Linked DNA regions of Homo sapiens: region 2 is linked to region 1. The links are contacts of gene promoters, found by promoter capture Hi-C in blood cells and fetal thymus (Javierre and others, 2016). All regions are on one chromosome and are shown on one strand. The core of a region is centred on a gene start or on the middle of the fragment in contact, and the rest is flanking DNA. Distances in the headings are between cores, read along the strand shown.

The links. The method cuts DNA at HindIII sites, captures the fragments that hold promoters and counts their contacts. A CHiCAGO score of 5 or more calls a contact.
Region 2: a contact is called between a fragment that was not itself captured here and the fragment with the promoter of PRRT4 in region 1, in 1 of 17 cell types (neutrophils). The highest score is 6.8, in neutrophils.

What each region holds. Positions count from the first base shown.
Region 1 is chr7:128,359,460-128,363,467 of GRCh38, forward strand. It overlaps PRRT4 (proline rich transmembrane protein 4), which reads right to left and starts at 2,231. Exons shown (of 6, transcript NM_001174164.2): 1 at 2,102-2,231; 2 at 1,847-1,963; 3 at 1-604. The coding sequence starts at 532. RefSeq lists enhancers at 1-428, 429-1,297, 1,298-2,166. The HindIII fragment of the contact is 16,343 bases long and covers 1-4,008 here.
Region 2 is chr7:127,690,687-127,694,694 of GRCh38, forward strand. The region is part of intron 2 of SND1 (staphylococcal nuclease and tudor domain containing 1); the gene reads left to right. Among named protein-coding and RNA genes, the nearest start is that of SND1, 40 kb to the left of the region's middle. The HindIII fragment of the contact is 1,087 bases long and covers 1,786-2,872 here.

The DNA.
Region 1 (4,008 bases), core at 981-3,480:
GCTCCAGCTCGCTCTGGTGGGGCCTGGGAGCACTGGATGGAAGTGCTGTCACCATCAGAGCAGTGTCCCAGGTCACAGTGCTCCTCCTGGGCTGATAGGGGGCAGTGGGCCCATCGCTGGGCCCAGAGCGCCGGGATGTGGACTCCGGAAGCAGGGAGGAGGCCCGGGGCTTTGAGCCACCTTCGGTGGAGCCCCACTCAGTGAGAGAGTTCCCTGAGGAGCCCACCAGCAATTCCCAAAGGGGGTCAGTCCTCAGCCCACTGGCCACCTCTTCCCCTGGCTCCTGGCCTGGCCCAAGAGAGAGTGGCTGGGTCTCTGTGACTGGGCTCCCCCAGACAGCAGCAGGTCCCCGAAGATGGAATTTGAAGTTAAGTCCCAGGTTGAGAGACAGCATAGAGGCCTCACTTTGAGGTACGGGGGTCAAAGTGGTGGCAGGGGCACCTGGGATGGAGGGGGTGGGCTGGGGGCCCACAGTAGCAGCAAACAGGACGCAGCAGAACAGTCCCAGCCCTAGACAGCCATGCCTGGCCATGGCCCCACCTGGCTTCGGGTGGCCTTGGTGGGCAGGGACTCAGTTGTTCAGCAGCTTTTGAGGAGGAAGGTCCTGGAGAGAGGAGAGGCCCTGTGAGCCCTGGCTGTGGCCCCCCTCTTCCCTTTCCCAGGATCGGATGTCCCAGAGAGAGGCTTCTGATCTCAGAGAAGCAGGTAGTGTGGGCAGGATGCAAAGTGTCCTGTCCATGGCTCTGGCTCTTCTTGCCGGGCCCTTCCTGTACCTTCAGGCCCCAGCACAAATCCCTGCCTGGGGGTTCCTCCTTCCCCCTCTGCTCATGCAGAAGCTGGGGTCTGACTGCAACCAGGGGCCCTCATCCTTAACTAGTAGCAAAAGGGATGGACTTGGGCTTCCAGACATGGATTCCTCTCTTCCTTCCCTCTGCTGAGCCTCAAGTCTTTACGCAGGCTTACCGTTTGCCAAGCACCCTTCTGGGCATATAACTGTGAACAAGCAAGCCCTTCCGATGTCTTGACCTATTCCAACCCCCACCTCCCGCCCCAGCCAGAAGTGCTGGCGCCCTCACTCTCAGACCCCAGGGGGCACAGGGCCTCGGGAGGGGTAAAGCCAGAGCTGAGTGATCTGGCCCAGTCAGAAGGCCGCCCAGGCTCTGGCCAGAGAAGCAAGGTTCCCAATCTGGCAGAAGCACCCTCCCTCCCGCCCCTCCCGTTTCCTGGGGCTGGGCCTGTTCCCTTCCCTAGGACCCTTGAAGTATTCGGGGGAGGGGCAGCTTGGCGATCTCCGGCTTCCTGGAGGAGAACGCCAGGCAGGCAAGCTGGGCGAACTGCAGGCAGCTGCGGCGGACTCCTACCCCCTCCCCAGAACTCTCTCCTCTGTGCGCACACATCTGGTGGGGGAAGGGAGGGTGAGCCAGGGACACACATGCACCCGGCACCCTTACATCACACACATAGCCACATCTAGCGCCCGTGACACACTCACCCGTCACATACCCCCCTGCCCCTGCACGCGCGCGCGCACACACACACACACACTCCGTCCTGCCGAGCCACTCTCCTCCCTGCATGGGTTCAAACCCAAGCTCTGTGAGCCCCCGGCCTCCCCTGTCTCTCTCTCTCTCTCTCTCTCTCTCTCACACACACACACACACACACACACACACACACACACGGCATGTACTGTACAGAGATGCACACCCCCTACACACATTCACACACACAGACATGCCACACACCGCCATCCCCCCACACTCGTACACGCCCACCACCCCTCGCAGGCACACATGCACACACGCGCGCGCACACGCACACACACCCCCAGCCCGGACCGGCCGACCTGCTCCCCGGGGTCTCTCCCGCAGGCAGGTCTCCTCGCCGAGCCTCCGAAAAGGGGCGGTCGTGGCGGCCCTGGCGCCCAGCTGGGCAACGCTTCGTGGTATCTCACCGCTTCTCTCTGTTGTGCCCAGCGCCCCGACTGAAGATCCGGACCTCCAGCCCCCGGCGGCCCCTCGCCTAGTCCAGAGACCGCAGCCTCGCCGCCCCGCTGCCCCTGAGCCGCCCCCGGCCCAGCCCCGGCCCGCAGCGCTCTCACCAGGCGGGCGGCCAGGCCCCGCGCTCCGCACTCCGCACTCCGCGCTCCCTCCCAGCGGCGCCGCCTCCTGGCTCCGAGCCTCGCTCCCCGGCGAAGCCGCCCGCGCCGGGGCTCCGCGGCAGCCGGCTCTGACGGCCCTCCCGTCCGCCCGCCCTCGCTCCCGCGCCCTCTCTCCTCCTCCTCCTCCTCCTCCTCCCACCCAGCCCGCCACCCGCGGTCCCCCCACACCCGGGCGGGCAGGCAGGCGCTCACAGCAGCGCGGAGCCGCGGCCACCTCGGTGCCGGGCGCCTCCACGCGCGCTCATTCACCCAGCGCTGTCAATCAGCCGCGGCGGGCGCCTCGCTGTGAGCCTGGCGAGAGCAATCACACACTCCCAGGGCGGCCCAGCACACACATCCACACGCGCGCCAGGAAACACACTCGCAGGTCAGAGGGCGCGCGCACACACGCGCACACATGGCAGCCTGCCCCAGGATGGCACCCCGGGCAATAAGAGTCCCACCGTTTGCTAAGTAGAAGTACAATGGACAATTCTACTTCCTTTATCTCATGAGTCCTCACCGCAACCCTGTGTATGTCGCCACTTTGCAGACAATTAAATGAAGACACAGAAAATTACCGAATTTGCCCAAGATTGCACAGCTTGGTAGAAACTCGAACCGTCTCCCTGCCGGCCCTCTCCACCACCTGGTGGTTTTCAACAGTTGCACTGCTACACAGCAGTGCCTCCAACACTTCACCGGTGAACTGCCAAATGCCAATCCCTGTGTGACATGTCTTTTCGCTAAAACTGATCTCTCAAAAATACTGTTTCAGAAATGTCTGCCAGAAAGAATGGTGAGCTAAGCTGCTTGTGAGAAGTGGATTACAACTGGTTTCTAGTAAGAGGTGTGAGGAGAACAGTAAAATCAAAGGCTGGGTTCAGTGGTTCACGCCTGTAATTCTAACACTTTGGGAGGCTGAGGCAGGCTGATCGCTTGAGCCCCGGGGTTCAAGAACAGCCTGGGCAACATAGCAAAAGATAAAATAAAAACAAACAAACAGCAAGCAAGCAAGCAAGCAAGCAAGAAAAAAAGAAGAAAGAAAGAAATTATCTGGGCGTGATGGGGTATGGTGGCAGACACCTGTAGTCCCAGCTATTTGGGAGGCTGAGACTGGAGGATTGCTTGAGCCTGGGAGGTGGAGGTTGCCGTGAGCTGTGATCATACCGCTACACTCCAGCCTGGGCAACAGAGCAAGACCCTGTCTCAAAAGGAAAAACAAAGAAAAAAGAGCGTGCCCCTTCACAGAAAGTAAGAGAGCTCAGGCAAAAGCTGACACAGGTTGAAGATGACCAAGAAAACCGAGCAGTCACTATGTATACTTCATGGAACCTGTTAAGTTGTAGTAGTGACTAACTGAAGTACTACTGACTCATTCATGTGGTTTTGAGTCTCTAAATCCCTTCATGTTTTCTTCAAACAATGATAGTAATTTAAAAGTATCAGAACATGAAACACTTCTGTCTCCCTGCACCATTTAAAACTTTCCCTCAAAATCTAAACATCCAACTGTGTGCCAAGAATGATGGTGGATGCTTTATAAGAGTCTCCTTACTTATTCGTCACCACGAGCCACAGAGACAGAAAAATTATTGTCACCATGTTATAGCCTTTTATATGACCCTGAATTCCCTTTCCATCTATATCCCTTCTCTTCTTCTCTTGAAGGTTGTGGCAGTTGCAGGGTGTGGGGCGGCGGGGGGCGGGTGCTGGTGTTGCTTAAAGAGTTACCTAGGGCAGATTCTGTCTCAGTAATTGAGAGCTAGCTTAGCACTTTGTGGATATGGTCCATGCCTATTTGATAAGTGAATAATGATGAATGGTTCTGGGGTCCATATGGGCAATGGGTTGCTTTTCAGAAAGGC
Region 2 (4,008 bases), core at 1,079-3,578, 670 kb before region 1:
TAAATGAATAATGAGGAAAAGAACCTGAGCGTCTCCATTTTAGGGGTTGAAAGATTGTGCAATGTGGCACTACGCTTTCTCTCTGGCTTTCTATTTCTTTGGAGCATGTTTAGCTTTTTCACATTCAGGAATAATCAAGGACCTTATTGCTCATTTGCATCCCTTTGTATCACTGTCCCAAATATCTTCACATGATTATTCTTTGCCTTCTGTCATGATATCGTCTTTCAAAGAAACTCAGCTGTCTCTTAAGTCCTGTGGCAATGAAAGCAGCCCCACTGTATGCCCCCAGCCATCTCTTCACTGTTCCAAGCTAATCCCCAGCGTTGCCTAGCTACTCCAGGCAGCTTAGATACTGCATTGATGGGCACTGTGGGAATTATATATTTATTTCCCACAGAATTATTGAGCTCCTGCTGCGGGTAAAGTTGTTTATGTTTTCATGAGAAATATAGAAATGAGTGTCACAACCACTAAAGAACTTATTCATTTAACTAAACACCACCCATTCCCCAAAACCTATTGAAATAAAAAAAAAAATTAAGAAATACTATCTTTAAAAAATAATAAAAGTGGCTGGGCGCAGTGGCTTATGCCTGTAATGCCAGCACTTTGGGAGGCCGAGGCGGGCGGATCATGAGGTCAGGAGTTCGAGACCAGCCTGGCCAACATGGTGAAACCTTGTCTCTACTAAAAATACAAAAAAAATTAACCGGGCGTGGTGGCATGTGCGTGTAGTCCCGGCTACTCGGGAGGCTGAGGCAGGAGAATTGCTTGAACCCGGGAAGCGGAGGTTGCAGTGAACCAAGATTATGCCACTGCATTCCAGCCTGGCGACAGAGCGAGACTCCGTCTCAAAAATAAATAAATAATTAAATAAAACAAACTAAAAGAAGGTAAAAAATAAAAAAATAAATATTTTGCTGTTTTTGTTTGTTTGTTTTTAGATGGAGCCTCGCTTTGTCGCCCGGGCTGGAGTGCAGTGGCGCAATCTTGGCTCACTGCAACCTCCACCTCACAGGTTCAAGCAATTCTCCTGTCTCAGCTTCCCAAGTAGCTGGGATTGCAGGCGTGCGCCAACATGCCTGGCTAATTTTTTTTTTTTTTTTTTTTTGTATTTTCAGTAGAGATGGAGTTTCACCATGTTGGCCAGGCTGGTCCTGAACACCTGACCTCAGGTGACCTGCCAAGAGTCTTGGCCTCCCAAAGTGTTGGGATTACAGCCGTGAGCCTCCCAAAGTGCTGGGATTACAGGCCCGGCCATATTTTGCTATTATTTTAAAAAAGAAATGAATGTCACAATCCTGCATTCATTGGAGCTGTTGAGGACTGGGGTAGCTGGGGAAAGACGGCAGAGCAGGATTATCAGTTACATATCCAGATGGCACGGTGGGGTGGTTGGAAGAGAAAGAGGGACAAAAAGTATTGAATGTTGGGTCATTTACCTAGTAACTAGTTAAGGTTTTACATTCTGGGGTTTCATCTTGTCCTGGTAGTTTTAAGAGTCTATCTGGTCAAAGAGAAGATTAGAATTAAAAGCTCAGTTTCATTGTGGTAGATATGACAACCTTTCTTGGGTCTGGAAGTTCTGAGCAGGCCGCCAGATTGCCTGCAGTTGGGCATTCTAAAGGAAAGAGTAATTTTGAGTCTCAACTTCTTAAAAGCCACTTGCTTCTTAGATGGGACTCTGGGGCATCATTTGAATAGACCACAGTTATTCTTCCTGTTAGACCATTCTGGCCCTTATTTGAATAAATGCTTTGAGCAAATTTCCTTATTTGAGCAAGCTTCTGTTAGGATAGACTTCTCCATCAGATAGTCCTCTGCCTGGCTGTCCTTTGTGTGGACACATGGGTAACACTGGCCTCACTTCCATAAGGGTTCTGTCCCAGAGCACTCTCTTGCCCTCAGAGGAGTGATGTGGTCAGTTGCTTTCCTCTATAGCTCTTTGAGTCTCTTGATTGCCTCTCTTCTTAACTAATATCTTGTCCAGTTATTGAATTTGCCCAACTCTGGACGGAACACACTTGAGAAGGCTTATTTAGGAAGGAAGATTGCAGAAACTAGGTTATTTTTTCTTACACGGTTAGGCATATGTCCTTTGCAAGACCTCCAGTGTGGTTTTCTCTTATTGACCGGTAACTAACCAGCTGGAAAACATGAGGTCCTAAGGGGAAGATGTTTCTTCAGCGAGCCTTAAAAGTTTTTTAGAAAAGTTCTGCCTGGTTGGTAGAAATTGGAGATTTCCCTGCAGGGGCTAGTTATTTTCCTGTGAACTGACCTTTTGTAAAAGTGTTTTCACCAAAGTCTTGGCCTCTTTTAGGAGCACTGGTCTTATCAGAGCTTTTCCAAGTATTTAGGAAAGCTCTATGTTACTGAATTTTAAATATTAATACTCAGGACTACATCTTAAACTTATCTGTAGCTGTGTATGTTTTTGGAGTAAGTTGATCCCTAAGGTAATAAAAATTTGGGACGCTTTGTTCATTGGTTCGGTGCTGTTTCTGTGATGTGGTTGATAATTGGGATCATTTGTCAATCATCAGACTCTTTGGTGACTGGTATCTGATTTTATTTTTGGAGATTGGGGTGGGGGGTAGAAATGAGACATAAAATCAAGGTGAACTTGATATTGTCATTGAGTGAATTGGGTTGGCCTCTGCTTTGAAGAGAGGGCATGATGTGAGCAAGTATCTGTTCATTTTTGCATCTTTAAGAACCCTTACTGAGGATCAGTTCTCTAGAACCTCATGATTTATGTTATGTAACAGTACTGTTTTTATGACTACCAGCCCAACAGTTTGGTGGACCTGCCACCTTTTGATTGGTTTCTGGTTTCTTAGAAGTCATATGGATATTTTTCTTCTAGAAAAGCTTGTTGGGTGACTTCATGGAATAATTAGCATGGACCAAAAAGGTTAACAGAGGCTTCCTTTCAGGCCATCAGTTTACTCTTTTGCCTTTACTGTGTGTAGCATGAGTTCTGTGGTTTGAAGAGATTATAATAGACAATGTATGCATATTGTATATCACTTTTCCCTTTTATACTTCACATTTTTTTCAGCATGTGAGCTCCTACTAATCATACGCTCCTTGAACACCTACCCCATCCCTCCCCATTTTGGTACTAAGGGAACTTGGGACATTAAACCAGGTCCAGACTATAAGTTCAAGTGCCAGTGGCCACTGTGCCAATGGCTTCAGAGGAGAATCTCCCTTTGTCTGAACCATCCCAGGAGTGATAGGATGGGGAGGGGCAAAACCACCCCTTTGTGTATTATCTTGAGATGACATGGAGACTCTGCTTCTACTGTGTGGATGTGTAGCTCAGTCCTCGTGTCTGTGCATGGAACGGTGAGAGGAAAGAATCACCATTATCAAGGTGATCCTTTGTCAGGGGCTGTTACTGGTGTCCTCCCAAGGATGTTGGGACCTGTAAAGGCTTCAGACTAGAGCAGAAGTAGAAGAAGAGCCATTTTGGGGGATATCTTCTTACTATTGCTGATCTTTAAAGAGGGGAGTGGAGATGACTTAAATAAGGCTCACTTGAGCAGGGGATTCACTCTGAAATAAGAACACTAGAATCATGTCCCTCCTCCAACAATGGCTTTAACTGGTTTCAGGCTAGTTTAATAGGCAGTGAAACTGTTTTAGAAACTGGAAAGAGGCGGAGAAATGGAGGTGGTAGTTGTTATTTATGACTTCCCTCTGCCTAGGTGGGTTCCTGGAGCCTGGACTTCCCATTTGAAGGAGTGGGTTGATATATATACAGCATTTAGAGCAGTGGCTGGCACATGGTATGTGCTATAAAAGCATTGGCAAATGTTATTCACAAAGTAAGCTATAACTCTGAACAGACAGTGATAGGGAAAAAGTCCTGCTGCCAGTGTCTGGAAAACTCTGAGGCCTGTTTTTAGTGTCTGTGTTAGTTAAACCAACTGCTGGACCCTCCTTTTTTTATGAGCCCCCTAAGTGTGCGATCTGCATTGTGTGCATTTCATTTTTATA